Regions from separate parts of the Homo sapiens genome. Here region 1 is linked to region 2. Evidence: promoter capture Hi-C in human tissues and cell types (Jung and others, 2019). All regions are on one chromosome and are shown on one strand. The core of a region is centred on a gene start or on the middle of the fragment in contact, and the rest is flanking DNA. Distances in the headings are between cores, read along the strand shown. Region 1 overlaps MLLT10 (MLLT10 histone lysine methyltransferase DOT1L cofactor). Region 2 holds the start of ARMC3 (armadillo repeat containing 3).

Region 1 (3,300 bases), core at 413-2,912, 1.3 Mb before region 2:
TTTTTTCGAGATGGAGTCTTGCTCTGTCACCCAGGCTGGAGTGCAGTGGCATGATCTTGGCTCACTGCAACCTCTGTCTCCTGGATTCACGCCATTCTCCTGCCTCAGCTTCCTGAGTAGTGGGGACTACAGGCGCCCGCCACCACGCCTGGCTAACTTTTTTTGTATTTTTAGTAGAGACGGGGTTTCACTGTGTTAGCCAGGATGGTCTCGATCTCCTGACCTCGTGATCTGCCTGCCTCGGCCTCCCAAGGTGCTGGGATTACAGGCGTGAGCCTCCACACCCGTCCTATTTTGTGTATTTTCTTTTCTTTTTTTTTGAGACAGAGTCTTGCACTGTCGCCTGGGCTGGAATGCAATGGCGCGATCTTGACTCACTGAAACCTCTGCCTCCTGGGTTCATGGAATTCTCCTGCCCCAGCCTCCCGAGTAGTTGGGATTACAGGTGCACACCACCACGCCCAGCTCATTTTTTTTTTTTTTTTTTTTTTTTTAGTAGAGACGGAGTTTCACTATGTTGGCTAGGCTGGTCTCGAACTCCTGACCTCATGATCTGCCTGCATTGGCTTCCCAAAGTGTTAGAATTACAGGCGTGAGACACTGTGTCCAGCCTATTTTGTGTATTTTCTTTTAATGTTCAGTGAATTTTTTTTTTTTTTTTTTTGAGACGGAGTCTTGCTCTGTAGCCCAGGCTAGAGTGCAGTGGCACGATCTCGGCTCACTGCAAGCTCTGCTTCCCGGGTTCACACCATCCTCCTGCCTCAGCCTCCCTAGTAGCTGGGACTACAGGCGCCCACTATCACACCTGGCTTATTTTTTTTGTACTTTTAGTAGAGACGGGGTTTCACCGTGTTAGCCAGGATGGTCTCGATCTCCTGACCTCGTGATTGCCTGCCTCGGCCTCCCAAAGTGCTGAGATTACAGGCGTGAGCCACTGCGCCCAGCCATATTTGTGTTTTTAAACATAGAAAAGGTACAGCTAAAATAATGGTATGAAAGATTTTAAAAAATGCACTTGTATAGGGCTTTACCATGAATGAAGCTTACAGGACTAGAAGTTGCTCTGGGTGAGTCAGTGAGTAAGTGGTGAGTGAATGTGAAAGCCTGGGACATTTTTGTACACTACTGATAGGGTTTGGCTGTGTATCCCCACTGAAATCTCATCTCGAATTGTAATCCCTATGTGTTGAAGGAGGGAGGTGACTGGATAATGGGGGCAGTTTCCCCCATCCTGTTCTCATGATAGCGAGTGAATTCTCTTGCGGTCTGATGGTTTTGAAAGTGGCAGTTTTTTCCTATGTACACATTCTCTTTCTCTTGCTTGCTGCTATGTAAGATGTGCTTGCTTCCCCTCCTGTGATGATTGAAAGTTTCCTGAGGCCTCCTCAGCCATGTGGAACTGTGAGTCAATTAAGCCTCTTTTCTTTATAAATTGCCCAGTCTCAGGTAGTTCTTTATAGCAGTGAGAGAATGGACTGCTACAACTACTATAGACTTTATAAACATTGTACACTTAATGTACACTAAATTTATTTTAAAAATTGCTCTGTCATGTTACTATGGCTATTACATCATTACGTCACTAGGCAATAGGAATTTTTTAGTTCCATTTAATCTCATGGGACCACCACTGTATATGTGGTTGTTGTTATGCAGACTGCATTTTGAGAGAGACCACATTCATATAGCTTTTCTTATAGTACATTGTTATTTTTTTTTTTTAATTTTTAAAAATTTTTTGAGGTGGAGTCTCTTTCTCTGTTGCCCAGGCTGGAGTGCAGTGGAACGATCTTGGCTCACTGCAGTCTCCTAGGTTCAATCGATTTTTGTGCCTTAGCCTCCTGCTTAGCTGGGACTGCAGGCACGTGCCACCACATGCAGCTAATTTTTTTGTGTTTTTAGTAGAGATAGGGTTTCACCATGTTGGCCAGGCTGGTCTCGAACTCCTGACCTCAGGTGATCTGCCCGCCTCAGCCTCCCAAAATCCTGGGATTATAGGTGTGAGCCACTACACCCAGCCTGTTCTATTTTATTGTTGTTGTTAATCTGTTACTGTGCCTAATTTATAAATTAAACTTTTTATAGGTATGTATGTATAGCAAAAAACAGAATCAAGTGCTCAGTACCATTTGTTGTTTCAGACATCCACTGGGGTTCTTAGAATGTTTCTCCCATGGATAACTGGGGGACTACTGCATTTAGGAGGTGACTGAAGTGGTCCTGATGAAAGGTGATGCTTGCTTTAAGTAGGGTAATAGTGGAGATGGAGAGAGAGAGGCAGATCTCACCAGTATTTAGGAAGAGGAAGGGCACAATACAGTTATGGATTAAAAGTGAGATTAGGGAGTGAGGCATGAAGTGGTCAAAGATGACGTATACTAGGTGTCTTGCGTGAGCAATGTGTCATTGAAAATATCATTACCAGTATATGAAAAGAGCAGGAAGAGCAGATTTTGTCATAAATTGTGGAGCGTTTCAAGTGTCTATGTAGGCTGGGTGAGGTGGCTCACTGTAATCCTAGCACTTTAGGAGGCTGAGGTGAGTGGATCACTTGAGGCCAGGAGTTTGAGACCAACCTGGGCAACATGACGAAACCCTATTTCTACTAAAAATAGAAAAAGTTAGCTGGACGTGGTGGCACACACCTGTAATTGCAGCTCCTTGGGAGGCTGAGGCAGGAGAATTGCTTGAACTCTGGAGCTGGAGGTTGCAGTGAGCCGAGATTGAGCCACTGCACTCCAGCCTGGGCAACAGAGTGAGACTCCATCTCAAAATAAAATAAAATAAAGTGTTTATGTAGCATATAGAGTTTTATACCTGAACCTGAGGACAGATACAAATAGATAAAATTTGGGAGTCACTGTTACATTTTTATAATTTAGTTGGTAATGGAAATTTGGACAATGAGTAAGATTGCCTAGTGTTTCATGTGAAATAAGATGACATCTTAGGCCAGAGCCCTGAGGAATTTCACCATTTAAAGGTTTGATAGGGTGATCAGAAAGGTGCTGCCAAAGAGGTAATAGGAAAATCAGGAGAGTGAAATACTGAAAGGCAAGAAGTATAGTGGTATTAGCCTGTTTCAGGTTAAAGGAATACCTGAAACTGGGTAGATTATTAATATAAAGAAAAGAGGTTTATTTGGTTCACAGTTCTGTAGGCTGTACAAGTATACCACCAACATCTTTGGGCTGAGGAAACTTTTACTCATGGGGCAGTGGGAATGGGGACCAGGAGTGTCACATGGTGAGAGAAGGGAGCAAGGTGGCAGGCTCTTTTTACCAATCAGATCTCACATGA
Region 2 (3,227 bases), core at 409-2,908:
ATAGTCTGAAGAGTGAATAGGAAGTTAAAAATATGTAAGTATCTAATGCTGGCTACTTTTTTTGAAAAGTCATGACCAAGAAGAGAAAGAAAACAATAGGATAATAGTTAGAAGGAACAACAACATCAAAGGGATTTTATTTGTTTTTGCTTTTTAGATGAGGCATGGGAGGGGCTTCAACATAATTATATACCAACAGGAAAAAACGTGGAAGACAGGGAGAGGCTGAAAATACAGGTGTATATTATTCAAGGTCCAATCATATAACACTTGATGACGCTTATATTCTTGAAACTCCCTCCTTAGTTTCCTTGATGCTACTTGGTCTTAATCCTTTTCCTACTTTCATGACCATTACTTAAGATCTTTTCTATACAGAAGTCACACCGGATATTTGACCATGGAAAACTGAATACAAATAATTGTTATAAAGCTGTTTATCAGGCAATTTAAATGGTGAGAAGAGAACATAAGATATATAAAAGTAGCAATTATAAGAAGCATCTATCATTCTTAGGACTGGGAGACCAACAGGGGCCGGTAGGAGACGGAATTTGCAAAGTCTAAGAGGAGAGGGAGAGACTTTTTGCTAAAGGCAATCAAAAAATATTTTATGAAGATGGCATTTGAGCTGGGCTTAATTAAGTGGAAATGAGAGAATATTTCAGGTATTGCACATGACCTGGGAAATAGAAGCTACTTTATAAATATTTGTTGAAAAATGAAGTGATGAACAGATAAGCAAGAAAATCTAGAGAAAAGTGTGGAAAATTTCGGGAACAGTAAGTTTGGCTGGAGCTTGGATGGTGGAGATCGGTTGAAAATGTGGTTGCACAGATGGAGTAGAGATGGAGCAGACGGTCTTAAATTCCAGGCCAATGTGTTGAAAATTTATCTTAGGAAGCCGCTGACATTTGAGTAGGGAAGTGACAAGACTGGAACGATGATTTCTGGATGGCCGATTTGCCTGTGATACGTAGAAAGAACTGTAAGCAGAGAGCAACTGAATTTCTCAGCCAGAAGGCCAAAAAATGACGAGCTGGATTGAAGTGACAATAAGGATATGAGAAAGGGAACAAGCAGGAAACAAAATGTAAGCCGCCAAGAAGTGGCTGAAGTGATGACTGTGGTTGGGGGGCATGGGAGGAAGAAGGGAAATTGAAGCTCCTTCTGAGTCTAGGCAATTGGAAGAATGGCAGGAAGAGGAAAGAAAGAGGAAGAGAACGGGGCTTTGAAGGGCCATGAGAAGTTCTGTGGAAACGGATTGGACATCCTAGTGCAAAGAGATGTGGCAGTGCAGGTCTGCAGCTTAACGGAGCCTGGGCAGGAGGTGGCTGATGTGGGTTTCATCTGCATAGAGATTCCGGCTGACGCCTCTATTTGGAAGAATGCAATAGTATTTGCGTATTTGAACCCACAGCCAGTCCTTGGGCCAGAAACTGAGGCTGAACTGCCTCTTGATTTACAGCTTCCACCCCCAGTTTCCATTCTCCCCTAAAGCACTGGATTCAGGTAATCGCGGACGCACTTGGCTCCTCCCGCACTGGCCGCTGCCCTCGGCGGGACAATGGGCGCCCTAGCAGCCCCGAGCGTTCCCAGGGCGCAGGCGCGGCGCGGCGTGGCGTCGCCTAGCAACGAGGCACAACAAGGGACTGGGGGTTCGTCTGCTGGGTTTGCGGAGCAGCTAGCTACTCGGCGGGATCTCCCGGCAGGTAAAGGTAACCCCGTGGGGTGGGGAGGCCCAAGGCAGAGGCCTGAGGAAAACCTGGGAAAGGAGAAGGTGCCACGTGGGCGCAGACTGCTTGGGTCAGTGAGGCAACACCTTGCTGGGCGTTGTTAGTTTCTGCCTCGCGCCCGCAGGGTTAGACGGGGCTTGGGGTGGGTTTCGTAAGCATCCCGCCACCTCCCATTCAACAGGTGACAAAACTGAGGCCCGAGAGGGGATCTGAGGTGAGATCAAGTCAGATTCCGTTACTTGACTGTGAGCAACTCAGAAGTGGCCTCGATTTCTTGAGCCCTCCTCCTCTTTAAATCTTCTCAAAGCAGAACTCATTAGAAAATATTTAAAATCATAGGCTGAACGTTCACGAAGAACAAATACAAAGGACCAATCAACTCGTGAAAAAAAAAATGGCTCCAGTAGTCAAGAAGATGCATTTTTAGAGCAGAGTTGTTTGCATATCCAATGCCCTGAAGTTTTCACCCAGTTAATTTACTGCTAGAGATTTATCCTAAAGAAATAGTTGGGGATAATGGATGAAAATTTTATGTCCAAGGACGTTCTTTCAGCCCTGTCCATATTTCCAGAAAATTAGAAACAAATTTCAACAATCAGAGACTGGCTAGATAGCTAAGGGATTTTAAAATATTTGTAATGGCATGTTATGCTAATCCACTGGAGATTATTAAAGCAATGAAGGGAAACTGAGACTTCATGAATTTATTTGTTAATATAAGAATTTAGTAGGAATATGAACCCAGGAAGGGAAGGTGAAAGTAGGGGATAGAAGTTGAGGCAGGATGTTAAAATCACTTTAGAAAAACACACAAAGCCAGGTACGGTGGCTCACGCCTACAACCCCAGCACTTTGGGAGGCTGAGGCGGGTGGATCGCCTGAAGTCAGGAGTTCGAGACCAACCTGGTCAATGTGGGGAAACCTGTCTCTACTGAAAATACAAAAATTAGCCGAGCGTGGTGGCGGGTACCTGTAATCCCAGCTACTCAGGAGGCTGAGGCAGGAGAATCTCTTAAACCTGGGAGGTGGAGGTTGCAATGAGCCAAGATCAGGCCACTCTCCAGCCTGGGCAACAGAGTGAGACTCTGTCTCAAAAAAGAAAAAGAAAAAGAAAAAAAGAGAAGAGAGAGAGAGAGGGAGAGAGAGAGAGAGAAAGAGAGAGAGAAAGAGAAAGAAAAAGAAAAAGAAAGGAAAGGAAAGGAAAGGAAAGGAAAAGAAAAGAAATAGTATTGATCTCTCTGAGCTTATCTTTGGGTGATTTTTATTTTATTCGTTGTGCCCTTGTTTTCCAAATTCTCCACAGTGAAATGTATTACCCTTGTAAGGATCATCTCCATAGCTCATTGCCACCGACCTATGTCAGCTGTTCAGTCTCTCCTCCATTAACTATCATACCCAATATGGTGATAAAACACATAGGCTTTTTTTGGGGGAGGAGACAGAGTCTCGCTCTGTCACCCAGGCTGGAGTGCAATGGGGTGATCTCAGCTT

Evidence for each region. Contacts are between HindIII fragments. The study calls those that stand out against the background at their distance.
Region 1: a fragment that was not itself captured here is called in contact with the fragment with the promoter of ARMC3 in region 2 in 1 of the 25 tissues and cell types used here (dorsolateral prefrontal cortex).

The regions. Positions count from the first base shown.
Region 1 is chr10:21,580,400-21,583,699 of GRCh38, forward strand. All of the region lies in intron 3 of MLLT10 (MLLT10 histone lysine methyltransferase DOT1L cofactor), which reads left to right. It also overlaps the pseudogene LOC100422524. Among named protein-coding and RNA genes, the nearest start is that of MLLT10, 48 kb to the left of the region's middle. The HindIII fragment of the contact is 5,411 bases long and covers 1-3,300 here.
Region 2 is chr10:22,926,395-22,929,621 of GRCh38, forward strand. It overlaps ARMC3 (armadillo repeat containing 3), which reads left to right and starts at 1,659. Exons shown (of 19, transcript NM_173081.5): 1 at 1,659-1,712. The HindIII fragment of the contact is 8,735 bases long and covers 1-3,227 here.